Regions from separate parts of the Homo sapiens genome. Here regions 1 and 3 are each linked to region 2. Evidence: promoter capture Hi-C in 16 types of primary human blood cells and fetal thymus (Javierre and others, 2016). All regions are on one chromosome and are shown on one strand. The core of a region is centred on a gene start or on the middle of the fragment in contact, and the rest is flanking DNA. Distances in the headings are between cores, read along the strand shown. Region 1 has its middle 52 kb from the start of CACNB2. Region 2 holds the start of HACD1 (3-hydroxyacyl-CoA dehydratase 1). Region 3 has its middle 17 kb from the start of CACNB2.

What was found. The method cuts DNA at HindIII sites, captures the fragments that hold promoters and counts their contacts. A CHiCAGO score of 5 or more calls a contact.
Region 1: a fragment that was not itself captured here is called in contact with the fragment with the promoter of HACD1 in region 2 in 2 of 17 cell types (naive B cells and fetal thymus); the score reaches 7.7 in naive B cells.
Region 3: a fragment that was not itself captured here is called in contact with the fragment with the promoter of HACD1 in region 2 in 1 of 17 cell types (M2 macrophages); the score reaches 6.4 in M2 macrophages.

What each region holds. Positions count from the first base shown.
Region 1 is chr10:18,086,555-18,090,647 of GRCh38, forward strand. No RefSeq gene overlaps it. Among named protein-coding and RNA genes, the nearest start is that of CACNB2, 52 kb to the right of the region's middle. The HindIII fragment of the contact is 1,559 bases long and covers 1,681-3,239 here.
Region 2 is chr10:17,615,183-17,618,956 of GRCh38, forward strand. It overlaps HACD1 (3-hydroxyacyl-CoA dehydratase 1), which reads right to left and starts at 2,192. Exons shown (of 7, transcript NM_014241.4): 1 at 1,901-2,192. The coding sequence starts at 2,157. RefSeq lists a silencer at 1,733-2,392. The HindIII fragment of the contact is 16,531 bases long and covers 1-3,774 here.
Region 3 is chr10:18,121,810-18,125,882 of GRCh38, forward strand. No RefSeq gene overlaps it. Among named protein-coding and RNA genes, the nearest start is that of CACNB2, 17 kb to the right of the region's middle. The HindIII fragment of the contact is 4,393 bases long and covers 106-4,073 here.

The DNA of each region.
Region 1 (4,093 bases), core at 1,210-3,709, 470 kb after region 2:
GCCAGACATGGTAGCATGCACCTGTAGTCCCAGCTACTCAGGAGGCTGAGGCAGGAGGCTGGCTTGAGCCCAGGAGTTAGAGGTTACAGAGAGCTATGATTGTTCTACTGCACTCTAGCCTGAGTGACAGAGTGAGAACCCCATCTCTAAAAAATAAAATAAAATGATAAAATATAAATAATATATAAGTAAATAAATGTGTCCATACATCCAACACTCTAGGTCAAAAGTCTGCTGTGTTTATTCCTCTCACAGGCTGTTTGCATCTTAAGAGATGACCTTTTTATTAATTCAAACAGATGTGGGATTGGGAGATCATATAGGGAAGCCAGTTTTGACTAGGGAGAATCTTGCAGGAGCCAGGCCTCCTTTGGGACACAATCCAATTCTGTGACAGAATGACATGGATGCCTTACTTTGAGAGTTGCTCAAACCCTGAGAAGTAAGGAATTGCTTCTTAAAAGATCCATGAAAGGCAACTTGTTGCTATATTGATATTTTAATAGCAATATGTCCCCCAAATAATGTTATTCCATTTCACATTTCATATATATTTATATGCTTTCACATTTCATATATATGCATATGCTTTTTCAAGTATCATTTTTTTGGGAAAGTCGTTCCTGTAGCATTTGAGCAGGGCCGTAGTTCTGCAGTTGTTTTTGGCTAAAACTCCTCATTAGTTTCAAAGTGCAGTGTTTGATGATCATGGTCTTCAGGTTGTGCTCTGTTTTTAAAGGAAATATTTAACCACAGAGCAGGACACCCTATCACAGGCACTTAATTTAATGTGGAAACCCAGCTGTTACTTTCTCTGAAACTTTTAGTAACTATTAAGGAAGGTGAAGTGGCAGAATTGGAACCTGAACTATGGTTCATAACTCTGGGCTGAAACTGTTTTCGGAAGAAAGCTCTTGGGTTGGTTGAAAAGATAACTCATGACATGGCGGACAGCCCCAAAACCTAGAGCCAGAAAACATGGAATGCTTCAAACAAACAAAGCCCAGCCTCTTCTTCAATCTGTTGCTTGTTGGTCCTTGGCCAGAGGAAGAAATGTGGGACTCCTGGGAATTGTGCCCAGTGCAAGAGTTCAAAGCTCCCTTTTGGAACGGATTCTGAGTACCAGCAGATAAAAGGCCATCCTCATTTTAGAAAAGACTTGGGCCGCTTTACTCAGTGGCCTGATCTCGAAATATTCCAGAATGTGCTGGTCTCCCTGTACCTATTGTCCATGTCTGTTTCCTTTAGTCATCAGCTTTCCTCAGGCTGTATTTTGGGTGGGCTTAAAAAAATATAATAGCTTTAGAAATTACATAGTAGTTAGAATGAAGATTTTATGTAGAAAGAGCAGTTTATATAAACTCCCAGCATGAAAGTTACCCCAAATGATAGGATTCTGACTTGGTGCATTTGCAGAATTTCAGACTGGATTACTGGTTTTGAAATGAATCAAGTTGTGTGACGGCAAAGTAAAATTTCTTCATCCAAAGTGAACTTGATATCTCCAGAGATTCCCCTGACTTTGCCTCCTTTCTTTAAATATAGACAAAATACAATAATAATCTATCACTCAGCATTTGGTTTTTAAAGTTTATGAGCAACAGTAGAATAATATGGGAGAGAATTCAAGTGATTCTTTGTGTATTAATGAGGGTGAAGGAATATAATACGACAACTGGAAGCTTTGTCCTTTAATTGGTATTGTGTAAGCTCCTGGGGGAGTTACTATGTTTCCCTCAGGAACATAGTAATTGTATTCATTTTTGAACACAAGGATCATTTTCTCAGTGGATTACTTTCCCAGAGCCTAGCACAGTGCCAGGCAAGTTGTAAGTGTTCACTGTCTATTGAAAGAATGAATACGTTGTGAATAGTGCCGCAACAAACATATGTGTGCATGTGTCTTTATAGCAGCATGACTTATAATCCTTTGGGTATATAACCAGTAATGGGATGGCTGGGTCAAATGGTATTTCTAGTTCTAGATCCCTGAGGAATCGCCACACTGACTTCCACAATGGTTGAACTAGTTTACAGTCCCACCAACAGTGTAAAAGTGTTTCTATTTCTCCACATCCTCTCCAGCACCTATTGTTTCCTGACTTTTTAATAATCTCCATTCTAACTGGTGTGAGATGGTATCTCCTTGTGGTTTTGATTTGCATTTCTCTGATGGCCAGTGATGATGAGCATTTTTTCATGTGTCTTTTGGCTGCATAAATGTCTTCTTTTGAGAAGTGTCTGTTCATATCCTTTGCCCACTTTGTGATGAGGTTTTTTTTCTTGTAAATTTGTTTGAGTTCTTTGTAGATTCTGGATATTGCAGCACTATTCACAATAGCAAAGACTTGGAACCAACCCAAATGTCCAACAATGATAGACTGGATTAAGAAAATGTGGCACATATACACCATGGAATACTATGCAGTCATAAAAAAGGATGAGTTCATGTCCTTTGTAAGGACATAGATGAAGCTGGAAACCATCATTCTCAGCAAACTATGGCAAGGACAAAAAACCAAACACCGCATGTTCTCACTCATAGGTGGGAATTGAACAATGAGAACACATGGACACAGGAAGGGGAACATCACACACTGGGGCCTGTTGTGTGGTGGGGAGCGGGGGAGGGATAGCATTAGAAGATATACCTAATGTAAATGATGAGTTAATGGGTGCAGCACACCAACATGGCACATGTATACATATGTAACAAACCTGCACGTTGTGCACATGTACCCTAGAACTTAAAGTATAATAATAATAAAAAAGAATGAATACATGAAAGAATACTTTTTAGTATAATCTTTTAGGGACTATAAGAGAAAAAAATCCTTATGGTATTTTAAAACAGTATTGGAACGGCTACATATTTGGAAAGTTCAGATAGATCACTAATGGAGAAACTGTCTAGTAACCCAGTGAGCAGTTGGGTTGGGAGAATTGGTTGTGAGTTTGGAAGAGACAGAGAATGAGGTACACAATATAATTTGAGTCACAGTTCATTGAGGCCTGACAAGAAATGGGAAATGGAATAGATTGAGTGTGGTCACATGATATCTACGGACTATTGGGAAAATATTGAAAGCTCCTAAATAGGGACAAGTCAGAAAAGCTGAGTTTCATTTCATGGACTTTCTTGGGCAAATATACATGGGAATGCATGTTTGGGGTTAGTTCAACATATTTTTTAGTTTTGAGACCTTAGCTAAAGATTCCCCCAGAACTCCTGAAAAATAAGCTTGCACTGACTAGTATTCTGAGCCTGCACAGGTTTGAGACTTATATTCTTATTTGCTTTTTTTTTTTTTCCATGCTTGTTAAAACTGGCAACATCAACTACTTGGGCTCCTCTAAGCAGACCTTAGCCCAGGCAGCCTGGCATGGGCCCCCATCTGGCAGTGGCCACAACCTGCCTGGATGTCCCATCTGCTAATAGATGGACCTGACAAGCAAGTTCAGGCCTGTGTATCTCAGATATCATTCGTTGTTTACCATATTGTGACTGGCTTGGGTCCATCGTCATCCATGCTCAGTGAACTGGTCACTCCTGGGGTTCTATATGTTTAAGATCTGAGGTCTATACTTGCATGAAGGATGTGGACCTTAAAATTAACCGAAACACAAGTTCAGTTGCTCGCTGCTTACAAACTCCAATTAGCAAGAGCAAGGTCTGGTATAAAGAAAGTGACTTTTTATTCCGTAGTTAGCTTAGGAGAAGCAGCACAGGCTTCCTGCCTGAAAGGTCCTGCTTCACTTTTGGAGCAGAAAGTGGGTGCCTTTAACGGGGAAAGCCTGGCATTAATGGCATACAGAGGCGGAATCAAGCAGGTGGAGAGTCCACATATCGGCGTCAGGCCCTATCTGCCAGGTGGTCAAGCGGGTGACTTTTGGTGCCTTCCTGGGCAGGACTAGGTTGTAAACGTGGCTGAAAACTCTCCAGGTGGGAGAGTCTTGTAGTGGGTATACTTTGGGTTGTAGATGGACTGGTTTTTTTTTTTGTTTTTTTGTTTTTTTGAGACAGTCTTGCTCTGTCACCCAGGCTGGAGTGCAATGGCGTGATTTTGGCTCACTGCCACCTCCATCTCCTGGG
Region 2 (3,774 bases), core at 942-3,441:
TATAATTTAGGAGGAAAGAAAGATGAAGTAGCAGGACAGTGGAGTCAGAGAGTCCGGGTTGAAACCCATGTCTGACTGACACTTGCTGGCTGTGATCTTGGGCAAGTATCTGTGCCTCACTCTTCTAATCTATATAATGTAATATCATGTGCCCCTCACAGGACTTTAAAGGACTAAAAATACACCTAAAATAACCAACACAGTCCCCTGCATAGTAAGTCCTCAGTAAATAACATTTGTATGAACTGTATTTGGCATTCAATATCATATGCTAAGCACATAATAGAAACTCAATCACCATAGGTAAAGATTTATTAAATTTTTGTCAATCACATTTTTCTATAAACCCTGGAGAAAGTTTAAAATATTAAGCCGGAAGTGGTAATCCCAGCACTTTTGGAGGTTGAGGTGGGAGGATTGCTTGAGGCCGGGAGTTTGAGACCAGCCTAGCCAACACAGTGAGAGGCCATCTCTATTTTTAAAAAATTAAAATAAAATATTAGGCCCGGTGCGATGGCTCACACCTGTAATCCCAGCACATTGGGAGGCCGAAGTGGGGGAATCATTTGAGGTCAGGAGTTCGAGACCACCCTGGCCAACATGGTGATACCCTGTCTCTACCAAAAATACAAAAATTAATGGGGCGTGGTGGCCCACGCTTGTAGTCCCAGCTACTCCGGAGGCCGAGGCAGGAGAATCGCTTGAACTCCGGAGGCTGAGGTTGGCAGTGAGCGGAGATCGCGCCAATGCACTCCAGCCTGGGCGACAGAATGAGTCTCCGTCTAAAAAATAAAATAAAATACTGTCAGGGCGGGATGGCTCACGCTTGTAATCCCAGCACTTTGGGAGGCCGAGGCGGGCGGATCATGAGGTCAGGAGATGGAGACCATCCTGGCTAACATGGTGAAACCCCGTCTCTACTAAAAATACAAAAAAATTAGCCAGGCGTGGTGGCGGGCGCCTGTAGTCCCAGCTACTCGGGAGGCTGAGGCAGAAGAAAGGCATGAACCCGGGAGGCGGAGCTTGTAGTGAGCCGAGATCCCGCCACTGCACTCCAGCCAAGACCGAGCGAGACTCCGTCTCAAAATAAATAAATAAATAATAAAAAGAAAAAAAGAAAATAGTAAACTTTTCCTCGCGTTTACATAAGTTAATACTTCGAGTGATAATGGGAAAATAACTTTTTTAAAAGGCAGTGCAATTGAGAAATGGAAAAGCATTTTCCCAACAGGTTTTGAGAAGCAGTTGACACAAAAGTCACTTTGAGAGCTCTGCGAAGAGCGACAGTCATTGTGTAACCTTAACTTGCAAAGTCATACTCAAAGCCAAAAATCAAGGTCCAGCTTATCAGCCACGGAGCCTGAGGCCATAAAGATGCTGGGCAGGAGCTCCACGCTGGGATAAGTGGGGTGGTTATTTCAAAATCGTCCCAAGTGACAAGCTCTAGGACGTGCTGTGCTTTAAAAAAAAAAAAAAAAAAAAGTCGCGGTGAAATTAACAGGGGCGAAAACTCTGCCCAGCGATCGCAGCATGAAGCTCTGCGCTCCCGAGACCATCGAGTGGCCAGGGCTGGGCGCTCCTTCAACAGCAGCGAAGGCAGCGGCGCCGGGGCAGCAGCCACCTCCCCCGCGGGCCGGCACCGCATTCCTGCCCGGTTCTATACTTAACCTCCGGCCAGCGCCCCGCCGTGCACCGTATTAGGCAATGCCAGGCGCGCAGGGCCCGGCCCCCCCGCCCGCTCCATTCAACCCCGGCGGTGGCCGCGGCGACAGCTCCCTTCCCCCACGGCCGCTGCCCGCACCCCCCGCGCCCCTTACACCCCGGCCCGCGCCCCCTGAACCCGGAACCTCCGCGGACCGCGGCGCGGGGAGGGCCCGAGGGTGCCCCGCGGCGCGCGTACCCCGCGGTCATGGCGATGTCGTAGAAGGTGAGCCAGGCGGTGGCCAAGACCCCCAGGCGCCTCCGCTCGCCGGGAGCCTCCCGGTCCTCGCCGGCCTCCGAGGCGCCGCCGTTGGTGCCGTCCTCGTCGCTGGACGCCATGGTGGCCGCGCACCTGGGGGACGTGGGAGACAGCGGCAGGAGCGTGGGAGGGGACCCTGCCCAGCCTGCAGCCCGAGAGCCGCTGCCCGCTGCCGCCGCTTCCGTCAGGCGCCCCATGTGCAGCGCGCAGGGGGCTCGGCGCAGCCAGCTCTACCGACCGCGAGGGGGAGGAGCGGACGCCCCCGGCCACCGCCCGTCACGCCCCCGCCCCGCCCCGCCCCTTGGGAGCGCGCGCCACTCGGGGGCCAGAACGCCTGGCCCTGGCACTGGGGATCCAGGACCCGCGAGCCCCGGCACGCTTTCCAGGCGGCGCTGTAGTTTCCGCTCCCGAGGAAAGTGCACCCGCCTCGCTAGCTGCGGGCGCCTCTTCATAGAGAGACGCCCAGACGCCTTGCGCCCTGGCGATGCGCACCCTGCGAGTGCATTTAGTGGGGACACAGGGAACGCACCTGAACTTGGCGTGGCTCTGCCCTGCCTGGCCTTTTGTAAGGCAGTTTCTCAATACGCAGGCAGGGAGCGGGATCTTCCCGCCACTCATTCTTTTCTTTTTAGAGATGCGGTCTCAGTCTGTCTCCTAGGCTGGAGGGCAGTGACGTGAACATAGCTCACTGCAATTTCGTGAGCTCAAGCAATCTTCCCACCTCTGCCTTCCAAAGTTCTGTGATTACAAGCCTGAGCCACAGCGCTGGGCCAAACATTCATTCATTCTTAAGAGCTTCTGGGGAAGAAACGCCTATTTCGCCCTGTTTCCCGTTTACTAGCGAGTCCAACAGGTCTTCCAACAGTGAGAAGACCGTCCCACTTGAGTGATTTTTTTTTCCTTTTTCATTTCTTATTTTTTTTTTTTTTTACAGTCTGGAGTGCAGTGTTGTGATCTCGGCTCACTGCAACCTCCGCCTCCCTGATTCAAGAGATTCTCCTGCCTCAGCCTCCCGAGTAGCTGGAACTACAGTCATGCACCACCACGCCCGGCTAATTTTTGTTATTTTTAGTAGAGACGGTTTCACCACGTTTGCCAGGCTGGTCCCGAACTCCTGGCCTCAAGTGATCCACCCGCCTTGGCTTCCCAAAGTGCTGGGATTACAGGCGTGAGCCACCGCACCCGGCCTCACTTGTGTGAATTTTACCGGAGCGTGTGTGTGTGTGTGTGTGTGTGTCTGTGTGTCTGTGTGTCTGTGTGTGTGTCTATTTACCAAGTGTCAGGCCTCTGAGCCCAAGCTAAGCCATTATATCCCCTGTGACCTGCACGTATACATCCAGATGGCCTAAAGTAACTGAAGAATCACTAAAGAAGTGTGGCCGGTTCCTGCCTTAACTGATGACATTACCTTTTGAAATTCCTTGCACCTACTGAAATACAACCCCCAAATTCCTGAATCCTCCCATTTTATTAGCTGTGTGAACTTGGACAACGTAACCTATCCATGCCTCAGTTTCCTTAGTGGAAATAATTTTTAAAAATCGTGAGCAGAGATCGCCCGTTGCACTCCAGCCTGGACGACAGAGTGAGACTCTGTCTCAAAAAAATAAAAAAAAAAGGAAAGGAAGGCTGGGTGTGGTGGCTCACCCCTGTAATCCTAGCACTTTGGGAGGCCGAGGTAGGCAGATCACTTGAGGTCAGGAGTTTGAGGCCAGCCTGACTAACATGGTGAAACCCCGTCTCTACTAAAAATACAAAAATTAGCGGGGCATGGTGGCGGGCGCCTGTAATCCCAGCTACTCAGGAGTTGAGGC
Region 3 (4,073 bases), core at 1,052-3,551, 510 kb after region 2:
TGTTGTGTGTAGTGTGCAAGCTATATACATTGTATGAGGTGTGTGTAAGGTGTCTGTGGTGTGTGAGGTATCTGTGTTGTGTGTGTTTATGTGTGTGGTGTGTGAAGCTTGTGTGTTATTTGGACAGCCACGTTCATCGCTGGGTGCCAAGGAGGCAGTATCTTTATCCTGCACATCCTAGGCAAATAGGCCCCAGGGCCACTGTATAAACATCCCACATTTGAAGGAGTCACAGCTCCCAGCCAGTTTTTCAGATCAGACATTGAAGGAAATAATGATGGCAGAACTGTTACCATGAGCTTTTCAACTGTGAAGTTCTTTCCCCTCTACTACTCTGGTCTCGTTACTGCTCCCACATATAAGTGAAATCAACCAAACCTTAGAGAATATCATTTCTTCTCCCTTCCAGTAGGAAAGCAAAGAAAAAGAATGATGATTATCTAAGTCCGGTTACCATTTGTTAAACTCCTTGTTTATTAATACACTTAATCCCCACAACTTCAAGAAGAAGAGATTATTTTTCCTAATTTACAGGTAAGAAGCCTGATCTATCTTCAGAGGGGCATTCCTGCAAAGCCACATGGAGTGGGGTGCTATTTGTGGGTATCCAAACCTAGGCCATAGCCAGTGCCCTGAAGCATTGAGCCACTTTGAACACTGTGGTTTTATTCATATGTGAGGGCTTGGACTACCTGGCCTGTTTAAAGCAGGCTTATGACGTTAATTAAATAACTGCCTTGATTCAACAAGGTTTCAGCAGACTGTTCCCTGTCCTTCATCTCCTACCCTCTTGCTCTCTCTCCTTTCTTTCCCTCCCTCCCTTCCTTCCTCTCTCCCTCCCTACCTCCTTTCTTCTTTCCTTCCTTCTTCTCTTTCAAAACATTCTTTTGGTTCATAGGTTAAAATTCAACTACAATGCTAGATGATGACAAAATGCTGCCATTTTGAATTCCTGTTTCTTTATCCATTTTTAAATTAAATTACTTCAAGACAGATCTCTAATATCAATAGCAGAAACGATTACACTCCAGTCAATACATATACATACATAGATATATAAACACACATATATACATTTCTTATCAATATTTGTGGCCAATCATCTGTTTAGCCTTGGGCAAGATTTCTTATCTTGCTGAGCATCTGTACAGTGGGGATAATAATGTGGCTCACCTCACAGACGTATTGTAAGGATTAAATTAAATAATCTGCAAAGCAGTTGCACAGTGCCTGGTACATAGTGAGCACTTAGTACATGTAAAACATTCAAATTGTGCATACATTTCATTGAAATATGTTTCTGCTGTTTCGTGTTTAATTTGTGTACTTGTTTTTGTCAACTATGATTTCTTAGTGAGGCAGGAGACTGGCAGGGCGTATTTCCCGGTCCCTACCAGATGAAGTGAAGAAGCCACTAGAAACCAGCAGGAACCAGCAGATGGCAAGGAAAGTGATCCCTAGCTACCCTCAATGCTTATTAGCCTAGAACACTCCCGCCAGTGCCATGACAGTTCACAAATGTCATGGCAACAACCTGGAAGTTACCACCCTTTCCATAGCAATAACCCAGAAGGGATCACCCCTTTTCTAGAAAGTGCTAAATAACCCACCCCTCCATTTGCATTAACCCACTCCTTAATTTGCATGTAATTGAAAGGGAATATAAGTGGTTATAAATACAGTTGCCAACAGCCCATACTGGGTGCACTACCTTTGAGTTAGCCCTGCTCCATAAGGAATGGTACTGTTCGATAAAAGGCTGCTGTCTAACACCACCGGCTCATCCTTGAATTCTCTCCTGGGCAAAGCCAAGAATCCTCTTGGGCTATGCCTCGATTTTGGGGCTCATCTGTCCTGCATTATCAGTATTCCAACATGATCTTTATCTCTATCATTGAGGAATCCTTCGCTGCAGTTTCAAGTAAACATAACCCTTGCTCAAACTGTTCTGTAATGCTAACATGTGTGATCAAAGGCACACTTCTGTGTTCTAGTCTAGAGGCGGGCTGTGTTTACCATATTCACTTACATTTACCAAACCCTTTGGGATTTTTCAGGACAAAAGAAAAGCATTTTCTATATTACTATTGCCATCTGGCATTTTGTGTCTGTTTTATTTCTATGGCTTCAGTGACAACAGTATATCACTCCTCCCAAAGTCCTTCATGTGCAGTGTGAAATCTAGTTGCTGAATATTATTAGGCTACATTAATTTGTAGAGTCCTTTGGGCCACTTGGATTTAATGTACTATATCAGCAGAAAATACCATTATTAGCACTCTAATTAAAGACATTTTATGGTGCCTTCAAGTATGATTGAGACATTTTCCTTAAGTATGCAATTCAGAGAGCTAGTAATCCTGGCATCTGGATGGCTTATAAGAAGAACATAAAATACTTCTAAATGTGTGATGTCTTTACTCCTTATATTCTGTAGTAAGAGATTAGGCTCAAGGAAATATTCTTCTATATTCCCAAATACATCAGCACACGTTATTATTGAACATGATAATACAGGTTTTAGATTCTCTCTGATACTTTCTTTGGAATACGATCTAAAAATATTGAATGATCTGGGAATCTATTTTCAGAAACTATTTCCTTTGAAGAAGGCATCTCCAAACAAATGGTAACGGAAAGAGTGGTTCGTTGGCTTTTAACTATTCTTCTTAAAAACATAGGATTTCAGAGCTGACAGGAACCTTGAAAAGTAATAAAAATTTACTCTAATTTCCTCATTTGACAGTGAAGGACATTAAGGTTAAGCGGCAAAGGCCATTTGTGTTTAAATCTAATGAGCCACAGCGGCAAGCTGTCATCTTAAAAACACTATCTAGATTACCATGGGAAACTGCCTATTGTGTTTTGTGATTTAGACATGTCACTTTTAAACTTTCAATGCCTAAAACCCTCATCTAACTGGAAACATTTTTCCACATGCTTAGAAAAAGGCAGAAAACAGGGGAGGTGGGAGAATCAATTCAGTACATCTGTTTACAATAACAGTACATAAAATCACCTACAGCCTGGCTAGTTTTACCATAATCATTGTTCATAGTGATGATACTTCCTGGGACTTCAAAGTCAGAAAATACTTAACTATTTTGAAAGATTTTTCAATGTCTCCTCAGTTTTCCTCTGAATTCAATAAATAAAAGTATTACATCCCCTGAGAACTCTGACTGATAGAGTTTTCTGACAATGGCTTTTTATTTTCAACATTTCATGCTTTAATTCTGATATACTTTAAAGAAGATGTAACAGGTAAAATATATAGCCAGAGTTACCCACTAAAGTCGGATTGGTAATTTTAACTTAACTATTTTTACTTTTGTTAAGTCATCACAAATAATTTTTTTGTGTTAAATTATAAACATAGGCCACATAAACAAAGGCCACATGCTTAGTACAAATTTTGTCCTGGCATCTAGAATAGGTTTTATGTCACCTGGGCCAGACCCCTTACTGTAGAGCTAGGATGCTGAAAGCCTTACCCATGTGGTCTCAGCTGGTAAGGGTGAGGACTGAGAAGAAAATTAGGCCAAATTAGTCTCCAGATTAGCACTTGCAAAAATTGGTCAAGACAGCTTAATCATTTCAACTTTCTATTTTCCCCAAATTATTTTCTGAAAAATTACCTACTTTACTAATTGTCCACTTTAAATCTGTGATAGTTCTAAGAATGATATACTGAAAGCTGTATTCAGTGAGCCAGAGTTCTATATAACAGCCAAATGCTTTTTTCTGGCCTATCTGGAATATTCTATAACTCAACTATTGTGGGGAGACTTAGAAATTTCAATTTTATTAACTTTTCTATGACCAAGAATAAAAAAAAAAGGCTAGATTTGTATGGCCTAATTTGGTGAGACAAATGAAAGCAAAACACTACTAACTTAGCTAATAATTTGGGAAAGCCCAGTTCTACAATTGCAAATGTGTCTTGCTTTGAGATGCATAGGGCAGTTTCTCTCCCTTCCCAAATTATCAGGATGCTAAATGAACAATTATTTATAAATTACATGTATTTATTTTTTATCACTTGTAGGTAGTTCTGACAGAAAACTGGATCT